2 separate regions of the Homo sapiens genome follow, and region 1 is linked to region 2. Evidence: promoter capture Hi-C in human tissues and cell types (Jung and others, 2019). All regions are on one chromosome and are shown on one strand. Each heading gives the region's core, a stretch centred on a gene start or on the middle of the fragment in contact. The rest is flanking DNA. Distances are from core to core; before and after follow the strand shown.

What was found. The method cuts DNA at HindIII sites, captures the fragments that hold promoters and counts their contacts. A contact is called where the count stands out against the background at its distance.
Region 1: a contact is called between a fragment that was not itself captured here and the fragment with the promoter of SPI1 in region 2, in 1 of the 25 tissues and cell types used here (spleen).

What each region holds. Positions count from the first base shown.
Region 1 is chr11:47,231,168-47,236,562 of GRCh38, forward strand. DDB2 (damage specific DNA binding protein 2) reads left to right here. Exons shown (of 10, transcript NM_000107.3): 4 at 1,647-1,792; 5 at 3,406-3,505; 6 at 3,590-3,767; 7 at 4,103-4,245. Among named protein-coding and RNA genes, the nearest start is that of ACP2, 15 kb to the right of the region's middle. The HindIII fragment of the contact is 6,251 bases long and covers 531-5,395 here.
Region 2 is chr11:47,376,974-47,382,078 of GRCh38, forward strand. It overlaps SPI1 (Spi-1 proto-oncogene), which reads right to left and starts at 1,574. Exons shown (of 5, transcript NM_003120.3): 1 at 1,336-1,574. The coding sequence starts at 1,380. It overlaps SLC39A13-AS1 (SLC39A13 antisense RNA 1), which reads right to left. Exons shown (of 4, transcript NR_182308.1): 4 at 4,642-5,105. RefSeq lists enhancers at 128-327, 998-1,047, 1,221-2,172, 1,668-1,737. The HindIII fragment of the contact is 21,953 bases long and covers 1-5,105 here.

The sequences.
Region 1 (5,395 bases), core at 2,406-4,905, 140 kb before region 2:
AAACCAGCGCCTAGTACATAGTAAGCACTTAATAAGGTTAAGCCATTGATATTCTCATGATTATTTTCATCATCATTTTCATGAATGTTTGGAAGAATAGGAAGGGGCACAGATCTGACTCCTGCCCTCCTAACTCAGCCACTGCTCTGAGCTGAAGCTCTTCTAAAGAGAGCACTGTGGGAATAACAAATTAGGGCACATCCATGTAATGGAATACCTCAGCAATAAAATGAGATGAGCTCTTGATACAGCAAACTCAGATGAATCTCAGAGGCATGATGAGTGAAATGAAACAAGACAGTCTCAAAAGGTTGCATACTGCCTAATTCATTTACATGACATTCTATTTTTAATTTTATTTTATTTTATTTTTAGAGACAGGGTCTTGCTCTGTCACCCACGCTAGAGTGCAGTGATTCGATCGCAACTCACTGCAGCCTCGACCTCCAGGCTTCCGTCATCTTCCCACCTCAGCCTTCTGAGTAGCTAGAACCACATGCACCTACCACCATGTCTAAATTTTTTTTGTGTGTGTAGAGATGGGGTCTCCCTATATTGCTTAGGCTGGTCTTGAACTCCTGGCCTCAAGCAATCCCCCCGCCTCAGTCTCCCCAGGTGTTGGGATTACTGTGCTCGGTCTATAGGACATTCTATGAGGGCAAAACAATAGTGATGGAGAACAGATCAGCCAGGGGCTGGGGGCGAGGGGAGGGTGTGATTACAATGGGATACCACGATGGAGTTTTTGGGCTGTTGCAAATGTTCTGCATCCTGATTTGGGTGGTGGTTATTTAAGTCTATACATATGTTAAAATTCAGAGAACTTTATATCCCAAATTTGCTATATGTTAATTAAAAAAAAAAGTAAAAATAAAGCCTTAAGAAATGAAGGGAGGCGGGGCACGGTGGCTCACGCCTGTAATCCCAGCACTTTGGGAGGCCAAGGGTGGCGGATTACCTGAGGGCAGGAGTTCCAGACCAGCCTGGCCAACATGGTGAAACCCTGTCTCTACTAAAAATATACAATTTAGCCATGCGTGGTGGTGGGCACCTGTAATCCCAGCTGCTTGGGAGGCTGAGGCAGGAGAATCGCTTGAACCTGGAAGGCAGAGGTTGCAGTGAGCCGAGGTCGTGACAGAGCAGGACTCCATCTCAAAAACATAAAAATAAAAATAAAAATAAAAAAAAGAAAGAAATGAAGGGGCCAGACAAAGCGGCTCATGCCTGTAATCTTAGCACTTTGGGAAGCCGTGGCAGGGGGATCGCTTGAGCTTAGGAGTTCAAGACCAGCTTGGGCAACGTGACAAAACCCCATCTTAAAAAAAAAAAATAGAAAAATTAGCTGGGCATGGTGGCACGCACTTGGGAGGCTGAGGTGGGAGGATCGCTTGAGCCCAGGAGATTGAGGCTGCAGTGAGCCGTGTTTGTGCCACTGCACTTCAGCCTAAGTGACAGAGAAAGACCCTATTTCAAAGGAAAAGAAAAAGAAGTGAAGGCCCTGTAGAGAGCGTCCTAGTGTCTAAGCTGACCTGGCCCCAAGCGCTGCTCGAGGGGTGCTTCTGTGACGGCGCAGCATGTGTGCCCAGGCCTGGTTCCTCACGGCCAGGCCCATCATCACTCACTGGCTTTTTCCTTCCTCGTGTTAGATTGGAGCTGGAGGGAGCATCACTGGGCTGAAGTTTAACCCTCTCAATACCAACCAGTTTTACGCCTCCTCAATGGAGGGAACAACTAGGCTGCAAGACTTTAAAGGCAACATTCTACGAGTTTTTGCCAGCTCAGACACCATCAAGTGAGTAGTTTAACTAGCAGGGGAAAGGGCTTCTAAGCTTAGGTGTAGTTCCGGCAAGAGCATCCAGATCCCATTTCCTTAACCCAACCTGGCCCAGGGAAGAAAGGAAAGATGTCAGCCACTTTCCGCCCTTCTTTCTCTTTCTCAAACTGCTCCTTGGCTGCCCTCACTTTGGTCCAGGTGGGTTACTGCTTTGGGAAGGTGTTCTGGAGCCTCAGCTCTTCTGTAAGTCATACCTGTATTAGACTGGACCTTGACCCTCACTAGATAAGCCAGCATGGCGTGGACCCAGAAAGCCACCTAGAGAATGGAGCAACAGCTCAGAACTTGAGACTGAATGCCCTGCACTCACTGTGGTGTAATGACCTGACCTGTTCCTGGGTGGAAGCTTATATGGATGGAATCTTTTCCATAAAGTGCTCTGGACTTCCCAAGAGAAAGTGGCTGGAGAAATTACAGAATGCGGCCGGGTGCAGTGGCTCATGCTTGAAATCCCAGCACTTTGGGAGGCCAAGGTGGGTGGATCACCTGAGGTCAGGAGTTCGAGACCAGCCTGGCCAACATGGTGAAACCCCCATCTCTACTAACAATACAAAAAATTAGCTGGGCGTGGTGGTAGGCCCCTGTAATTCCCAGCTACTTGGGAGGCTGAAGCAAGAGAATCGCTTGAACCCAGGAGGCAGAGGTTGCAGTGAGCCGAGATGGCGCCATTGCACTCCATCCTGGGCAACAAGAGCGAAAATCTATCTCAAAAAAAAAAAAAAAAAATTACAGAATACTCGTCACTTTGATTTCCAGCTAGAGCCGTGACTCTGACTGCTCCCTGAGGAATTAAGTGAGGGTGCTGGGGTGTAACTAGCATTGGATTGGATCCTGGGCTGTCCCGCAGGGATGAGGAGTGCATGCGCACGCAAATCAGCAGGCAATTGGATAGACAAGGCTCCAGGCTACTCTTCCGCAAGAAATCTTCCTGCTTGAAGATATTCATAGGGGATGGCAAAAGGCAGTGTAGCATGGATTTGAGAGTTTGAGAGAAAAACTGTGAGCTGAGCTCTTCTGGCTGAATAGCAGGATCCCTGAAGCACCCTCCTAGTCAGCCTCCCAGTCCAGTGGTTTGAGGGACCAGAAGAGCTCCTGGTTGTGTTTTTTCCCCCAGTGTTCAGAAGGGGGCAGAAGTGCTTTTCTAGCCAGCTCTGAGGAACAGGGCCAGGCAATCCCTCTTTGGCTTGTGTCTCCTTTGGCCTAAAGGGTGAAGAGTGAAAGGAGAGAGCAGTAAAGGAGGCTTGCTCAGAACCCGGGGTGTGGGGGGCAGGCGTGCCTCAGGGCTTGCTTTATGGTATAAGCTTTGTCTGCTTCAGGGACTTTTAGGAGCTGGGGATCCTGGGCCCAGCCATAACCAGACAGATTTCTGAGCCCCATTATCCCATCCCCTCTGTCTGGACGGTAGAGCAGTCTGAATGTTCCTCACTAGGAATCCACGGCAAGACAGTTATTCATTCATTCAACAAATATTTATTGAATGCCCGCTGTGGGTTAGTCACCGGAGCGGCAACAGTGAGTAAATAGGACTATCTCTGTCCCCAAGAATCTTACAACACAGTCTCTCCCTCCAGCATCTGGTTTTGTAGCCTGGATGTGTCTGCTAGTAGCCGAATGGTGGTCACAGGAGACAACGTGGGGAACGTGATCCTGCTGAACATGGACGGCAAAGAGGTGCGTTCTCCGAGGTCCTGCCTTTCCCTCCCTCACCCCCACCTCGGTTCTGTGTCCCCACCTGAACCGAGCTCTTCTCTGCAGCTTTGGAATCTCAGAATGCACAAAAAGAAAGTGACGCATGTGGCCCTGAACCCATGCTGTGATTGGTTCCTGGCCACAGCCTCCGTAGATCAAACAGTGAAAATTTGGGACCTGCGCCAGGTTAGAGGGAAAGCCAGCTTCCTCTACTCGCTGCCGCACAGGCATCCTGTCAACGCAGGTGTGATATCCCAGACCTCATCTCTCCTGCAGACCCTGCCTGTCTGACCACTGCTGGGGTTTTCCCTCAGTGTGGAAGCCACTACGTCAAACCTTTACCCCTGATAGCGTCTGCCAAGCTGATGTCTGGGAACCTTTGTGGCTGTGGCTGTCCCCATCAGCTGCTGAGTTTCCAGAATTTTTTTGTTGTTGTTCACAGCCCAGATTCACCTCTTCCTTTCCGCTCCTGTCTAGAGAGGAGTGGGAGGGAGAGTACCCCTGCAGGAGAAGGCCTGCAAGGCCAGGACCACAGAGGGCTTGTGGTTCCTTCAGCTCAGGGGCTTTTCACTTTGCCAGCTTGTTTCAGTCCCGATGGAGCCCGGCTCCTGACCACGGACCAGAAGAGCGAGATCCGAGTTTACTCTGCTTCCCAGTGGGACTGCCCCCTGGGCCTGATCCCGCACCCTCACCGTCACTTCCAGCACCTCACACCCATCAAGGTGAGTGGCGGTGGGAAGGAGCTCGCAGAAGGAGGCTGTGATCATGAGGCCGGAGCAGGTCTGCCCACAGTGGGGAAGGGCTGATGTGGTAAGCCTGCCACCCCAGATCGCTCCTGGCCCGAGCACAGAGCATCTCTTACCCATTGGCTCTCTCTCTTCCTTTTATCCCACTTCTGCCATCCCATATGGTTGAGTTTTCTGTCTCGCTGATAAGATATTTTTCTGAGTTTTTTCAGCCCAGCTCTGATCTCACTGTGAGAATTTTCTAAGATCCTGACCCTCTGTTCTGTCTTCTCAGCTTCAGTTACCTGTGTACAGTTGACCCACAAACCTTCATTTTTTATTTTTTTATTATTTTTTTTAAGGCAGGGTCTCGCTCTGTCACCCAGGTGGGAGTACAGTGGGGCAAGCATGGTTCATTACAGCCTTGATCTCCCAGGCTCAAGCGATCCTCCTGCCTCACTTTTTTTTTTTTTGTAGAGACAGGGTATTCTTGTGTTACCCAGGCTGATCCTTTTTTTTTTTTTTTTTTTTTTTCTTGAAACGGTCTTGCTCTGTCACCCAGGCTGGAGTGCAGTGGCACAAACATAGCTCACTGCAGCCTCAACCTCCTGGGTTCAAGCAATCCTTCCGCCTTAGCCTCGGAAGTAGATTGGACTACAGGTATGCGCCACCATACCCAGCTAATTTTTTTATTTTTTATAGAGATGGGGTTTTGCCATGTTGCCCAAGCTGGTCTTGAACTCCTAGGTTGAAGCCATCCCCCAACCTTGGCCTCCCAAAGTGCTAGGATTACAGGCATGAGCCACTGCGCCTGGCAACTTTGCCTTCTTAGTTTGTCTTGCAGGTTTCAGTGCTTCTAATAATAAAAATAAGTCTTTTATTTTCCCACCTTTTCTCAGGCTCTTGTTAATAGCTTCTCTATCATTAGTCCCCAACACTAATAGCTTTCAAGTCCTTTGATGCCTTTTTGCCTAAGCCCCCATGCAGACTGAGCTCTGCTAGTTCTGCATTCTTTTCCAAAACTACAGATCCTCTTCAGATCTTCAGGTTTTATGCCTATACTTCTCTGGTCAGTTCAGAATAGTGGTGGGGAGCGCCAGTTTCCAGCAGCCAGACCCCCCGGGTTAGAATCCTTGGGCAAATTACT
Region 2 (5,105 bases), core at 324-2,823:
TGGGCCTGTGGCTTTCTTGAGGCAGAATTGGCTCTTTCTGAGACAACCTCCGTCACCCTCTGCCTGGGCCGCCCACTTCGTGTTCCCAGGTGGGAAGGGGTGTCGGTGTGGATGCCACAGCAGGCTGGCTGGTCCTGCCTGGTCCTGCCTGTGGCTGGCCAAGTGAGGAGGCCAGGAGCCCAGCACTGAGCCTGCCCCTCTGGGTTTCCAGGTAGTACAGCCTCGCTGCAGGATGTCAGCCCGGCTCTGGTCGGGTTGGTGTGATGTCAGGCCTGGGGTGCCTCCCAGCCTCCTGGGGTGGCTCTGAGCCAGGGCATAGTGGGGGAAGGGAGCTGCCTCTAGACCAGGAAAGTGGATTCAGGTGGGCAGCCTGCCAAGCCCTTCCCGGCTCCCCTCAAGCCTCCTCACTCCTGAGAGGTCATGGGGTGGGAAAAGGGAGAAGGGTCCTTTCCGAGGGACCCTGGTCTGACACCTGCCTAAGGCTGCAACTGTCACTGAGAGTGAGGAGCAGTGGCGATCTGCCCTTCTCTTCTCGGGGTCCCCTGGGGCTCCCACTTCTTCACCCCCAAGACCCAGTCCCTGTCCTTGTCCCAGCCTCAGCCCCCATTCTCACTTATCACATGCTCACCCCAGGTCCCACCCAGCCCCAATCTCAGTCCTGGCCTTGTCCCAGCCCTGTCCCCTGCCGCGCCTCTCCCTGAACTCCAGCCCTGGGGCCAGCCCTAACTGCACTGTCTCAGCTCCACTCCTGGCTCCTTTCCAGCACCAGTCCCTGTCTCCTGTGGGTACCCCTGTGGGCCCATGGCCCTGACCCTTTGGTCAACAATCATGTCCTCTGTGCCAGGCCCCAGACTGGGCGTTGGGGACCCAGAGTTCCATCAGCTTTGGTTTCCAGGAGCCCCAAGGCCATGGGCCAAGACTTCTGCCCATTGCCTCCTGCCTTCAACCCCTTCCCATCCAGGGGACCGGCCTCCCCCAAGCCAGTCCCCCCATCTCCCTCCTCTACCTCTCTACCACCGCCTTCACCATCCTCAGCCCAGCACCCTCCCCAGGAGCCCCGGCCTCCGCCTGCCACCCGAGCCCTGTCTATAAATAACTGTTCAGGCCCCACCGATCACAGCCCCACCGTGGGCCTGGCCTCAGCCCGCCAGGGCATGCTCCGAGGAAGCCAATGGCCCCCTCGCTGGGTCTCAGGCCAGGAGTTCCAGGGAGGAAACCCTGACTTCCCACTGATAGCAAGCCAGGAGGGCAGTGGGTGGGCTGGCGGGTTCGTGGGCAGGCAGGCAGGCGTCCGAGGGCCACGGGTTGGGCTGGTGGAGGAGTCCCGGTACTCACAGGGGGGACGAGGGGAAACCCTTCCATTTTGCACGCCTGTAACATCCAGCCGGGCTCCGAGTCGGTCAGATCCCCTGCCTCGGTGGGGGCCAATGCAGAGCCCCTCAGGATGGGGTGCCCCGTCAGGGGCTGGACGGTCGTGGGGCGGGTGCAGGGCTCAGGCCTGCCCCCTGAGCTACAGGAGCCCTGGGTGAGCCCCCTCCCTTGACATTGCAGGGCCAGCACAAGTTCCTGATTTTATCGAAGGGCCTGCCGCTGGGAGATAGTCCCCTTGGGGTGACATCACCGCCCCAACCCGTTTGCATAAATCTCTTGCGCTACATACAGGAAGTCTCTGGCCGGCTGGGGCAGGTGGTGCTCAAAGGGCTGGCCTGGGAAGCCATGGGGTCCAGGCCCCCTGCCCAGAGGAAGCTGGGACTGAGAGGGATGACTTTGGGGGCTAAGCTGGGGAGGGAGGATGGGAGGGAGAACGTGTAGCTCTGCCACACCACTGGGAGGCTTTTGCTCTAACCCAACAAATGCCTGCTTCTTTTGAGATCCCTATGTAGCCAACAGTCACCTCATTGGGGTCAGAGCTGGAAGGGGTGGCCTCTTGGGGCCTCCACTTTCTGGAGTCAGCCTTCCTGGGTGAGGGCTCTGATCTAGCAGGCTATCAGGCCTGGCTCTTCCTGTGGCCCTGCACCCCCACTGCCTAGGCTATCCCTAGGCTGAGGCTGGGCTCAGGTGTAGGGTCTTCAGCATAGTGCTGCTTTCTTCCTTCCCTCTGAATCTGTTCACATGGGCTTCCCTACCACCAGAAGAGGGTCCTGGGTTCTTATACCCTCCCCTCCCAGCTTCTTGATTACCACATTCAAATCCCTAGGGCTCTGTTTCCAGCCCAGGTTTCTCAGTTTCCCCATCCCTTGGCAATGCCTGAATATCAATCTAACCCTCCTGGTTTACAAACCTTTCTTGCCTATCCACCATTCATCTGTTTTCCCATGCATCTATTTGTCTGTCTATTTGTCCATCCAGCTATCCATTCATCAAGCCCACCATGCATTCACTTATGTGTCCATTTATCCAACTGTCCGTTTGTTTGTTCATTCATCTGTCAGTCAATTCATCCACCCACCCATCTGTTTATCTACTTGTCTATCTAACCATCTATATGTCCATTAATCAGCCCGTCCACCTGCTATCAGTCCATCAGTCCACAATTCCATCTGTTTATCCATCTATGAATCTGCTCATCCATTCATCCACCTGTCCATCCATCCACCCATCCACTCATCCACCCATCTACCCATCCACTCATCTGTCCATCAACCCATCCATCATCCACCTACCCCTTCATTCATTCATCCATCCATCCACCAGTCCACTCATCCACCCATCTACCAATCCACCCACCTACCATTCCACCCATCTATTCATCCACCTATCCATCCATTCACCTATCAGCTTCGGTTTCCAGGAGCCCCATGAGAACAGGCAGTATTTGACTTTCTGTTTCTGCGTTGTTTCGCATATGATAATGTCCTCCAATTCCATCCATGTTGCTGCAAAGACATAATTTCATTCTTTTTTATGGCTGAATAGTATTTCATTATATATATATATAAATACAATATAACATGTTATTTATTCACTCACCCGTTGATGGACACTTATGTTGATTCTGTATCTTTGCTATTATGAATAGTGCTGTGATAAACATACAAATGCAGTATCTTTTTGGTATCACTCATCCATCCAGCCATCCATTCATCCATCCATCCATTCATCCACCTATCCACCCATCTACCCATCTACCCATTTACTCATCCACCTGTCCACCAATCCAGCTATCTACCCATTCATCCATCCACTCATCCACCTATCCATCCATCCACTCATTCATCCAGCCATCCACAAATCCACCCATCCACTTATCTATCCATCCATCCATTCATCCATCCACCAATCCACTCATCCACTTATCTATCCATCCATCCATTCATCCATCCATCCATCCACTCATCCACACATCTACCGATTCACTAATCCACCCATCCACCAATCCACTCATCTACCCATCCATCTATCCATCCATCCACTCATTCATCTATCTGTCTATCCACTTATCTGTCCATCCATGCATCTTCCCAATGTTGAGTTCCAGGCTCTAAGCTGAGCGCTGGGAAAACAAAAAAGTATTATACAAGACCCCTGCCTTCAGAGAGTTCCTGATCTTTTCTGGGGGGTGGAGGGATGAGTAGAGGCATTTTTGTTTTGTTGTTGTTGTTGTTGTTGTTGTTTTTCTGGCCCAGTGATCTCTGGTGAGTCCCCTCTGCTGGGAAGGAATTTTGAACATTCAGTGTCCTCCCCTGTATAATCTAACCCCTTGCTTTAAATTCCCACTCCACTAAGACAGGCCTGCCTTCTTGCCAGTGGATTCCTAGGCCACAAGTGTTTTTTCATTAGCAGCAAACACCAGAATTTCACAGCTCTGGGCTCACCATTAGATCTACTTGACTTCCACCTTCACTGACTTTGTATCTGCACTTGGGACTCTCCAAAGGCTCCAGGCCACAGGTCCTCAGGGCTCCCTAGGAACCTGACCAAGGCCTCTCCCAAAAAGGAGGGGAGGGACAGGTTGGCTTGGCATCAGTTCCATCCTTGTTCCCACTTCCCCATCAAGAAGGCCAAGCCCCAGCTGACTGGGTGCAGTGGGGTGTAAGGTTATCCACTCCACAAGATCTAGGCCCTGCTTGATGTGTTCATTCATTCACTCGTGTGTGTTATTGTCTTGCTTTGGTTTGTTTATATGCTTATTTATTCATTCATTCATTTAATCACTTTTTTGTATAAATGTAAGGGGTACAAATGCAGTTTTGTTCCATGGATATATTGCATAATGGAGAAGTCTAGGCTTTCAGTTTATCCATCACCAGAATAGTGTACATTGTGCCCTTTAAGTAATTTCTCATCCCTCACCATGCCTCCCCACTCTCCCACCCTTGCAAGTCTCCAGTGTCTGTCATTCCACATTCTATGTCCATGTGTACACATTATTTAGCTCCTACTTATACATGAGAACAGGCAGTATTTGACTTTCTGTTTCTGCATTGTTTCGCTTATGATAATGGCCTCCAATTCCATCCATGTTGCTGCAAAGACATAATTTCATTCTTTTTTATGGCTGAATAGTATTTCATTATATATATATATATATATAAAAATATAACATTTTATTTATTCACTCATCCGTTGATGGACACTTAGGTTGATTCTGTGTCTTTGCTATTATGAATAGTGCTGTGATAAACATAAAAATGCAGTATCTTTTTGGTATAGTGATTTATTTTCCTTTGGTTAGATACTCAGTGAGATTGCTGGATCAAATGATATTTCTTTTCCTTTCTTCTTTTCTCTCTTTTTCTTTTTCTTTTGAGACTGAGTTTCGCTCTTGTTGCCCAGGCTGGAGTGCAGTGGCACAATCTTGGCTCACTTTGCCTCCCGGGTTCAAATGATTCTCCTGCCTCAGCCTCCTGAGTAGCTGGGATTACAGGCGCCCGCCACCACGCCCAGCTAATTATTGTATTTTTAGTAGAGATGGGGTTTCATCATTGTTGGCCAGGCTAGTCTCAAACTCCTGATCTCATGTGATCCACCTGCCTCGGCCTCCCAAAGTGCTGGGATTACAGACGTGAGCCACCATGCTTGGCCAGTTCTTTTTCTTTTGAGACAGAATGCCACTTTATCACTGAGGCTGGAGTGCAATGGCGTGATCTTGGCCCACTGTAGCC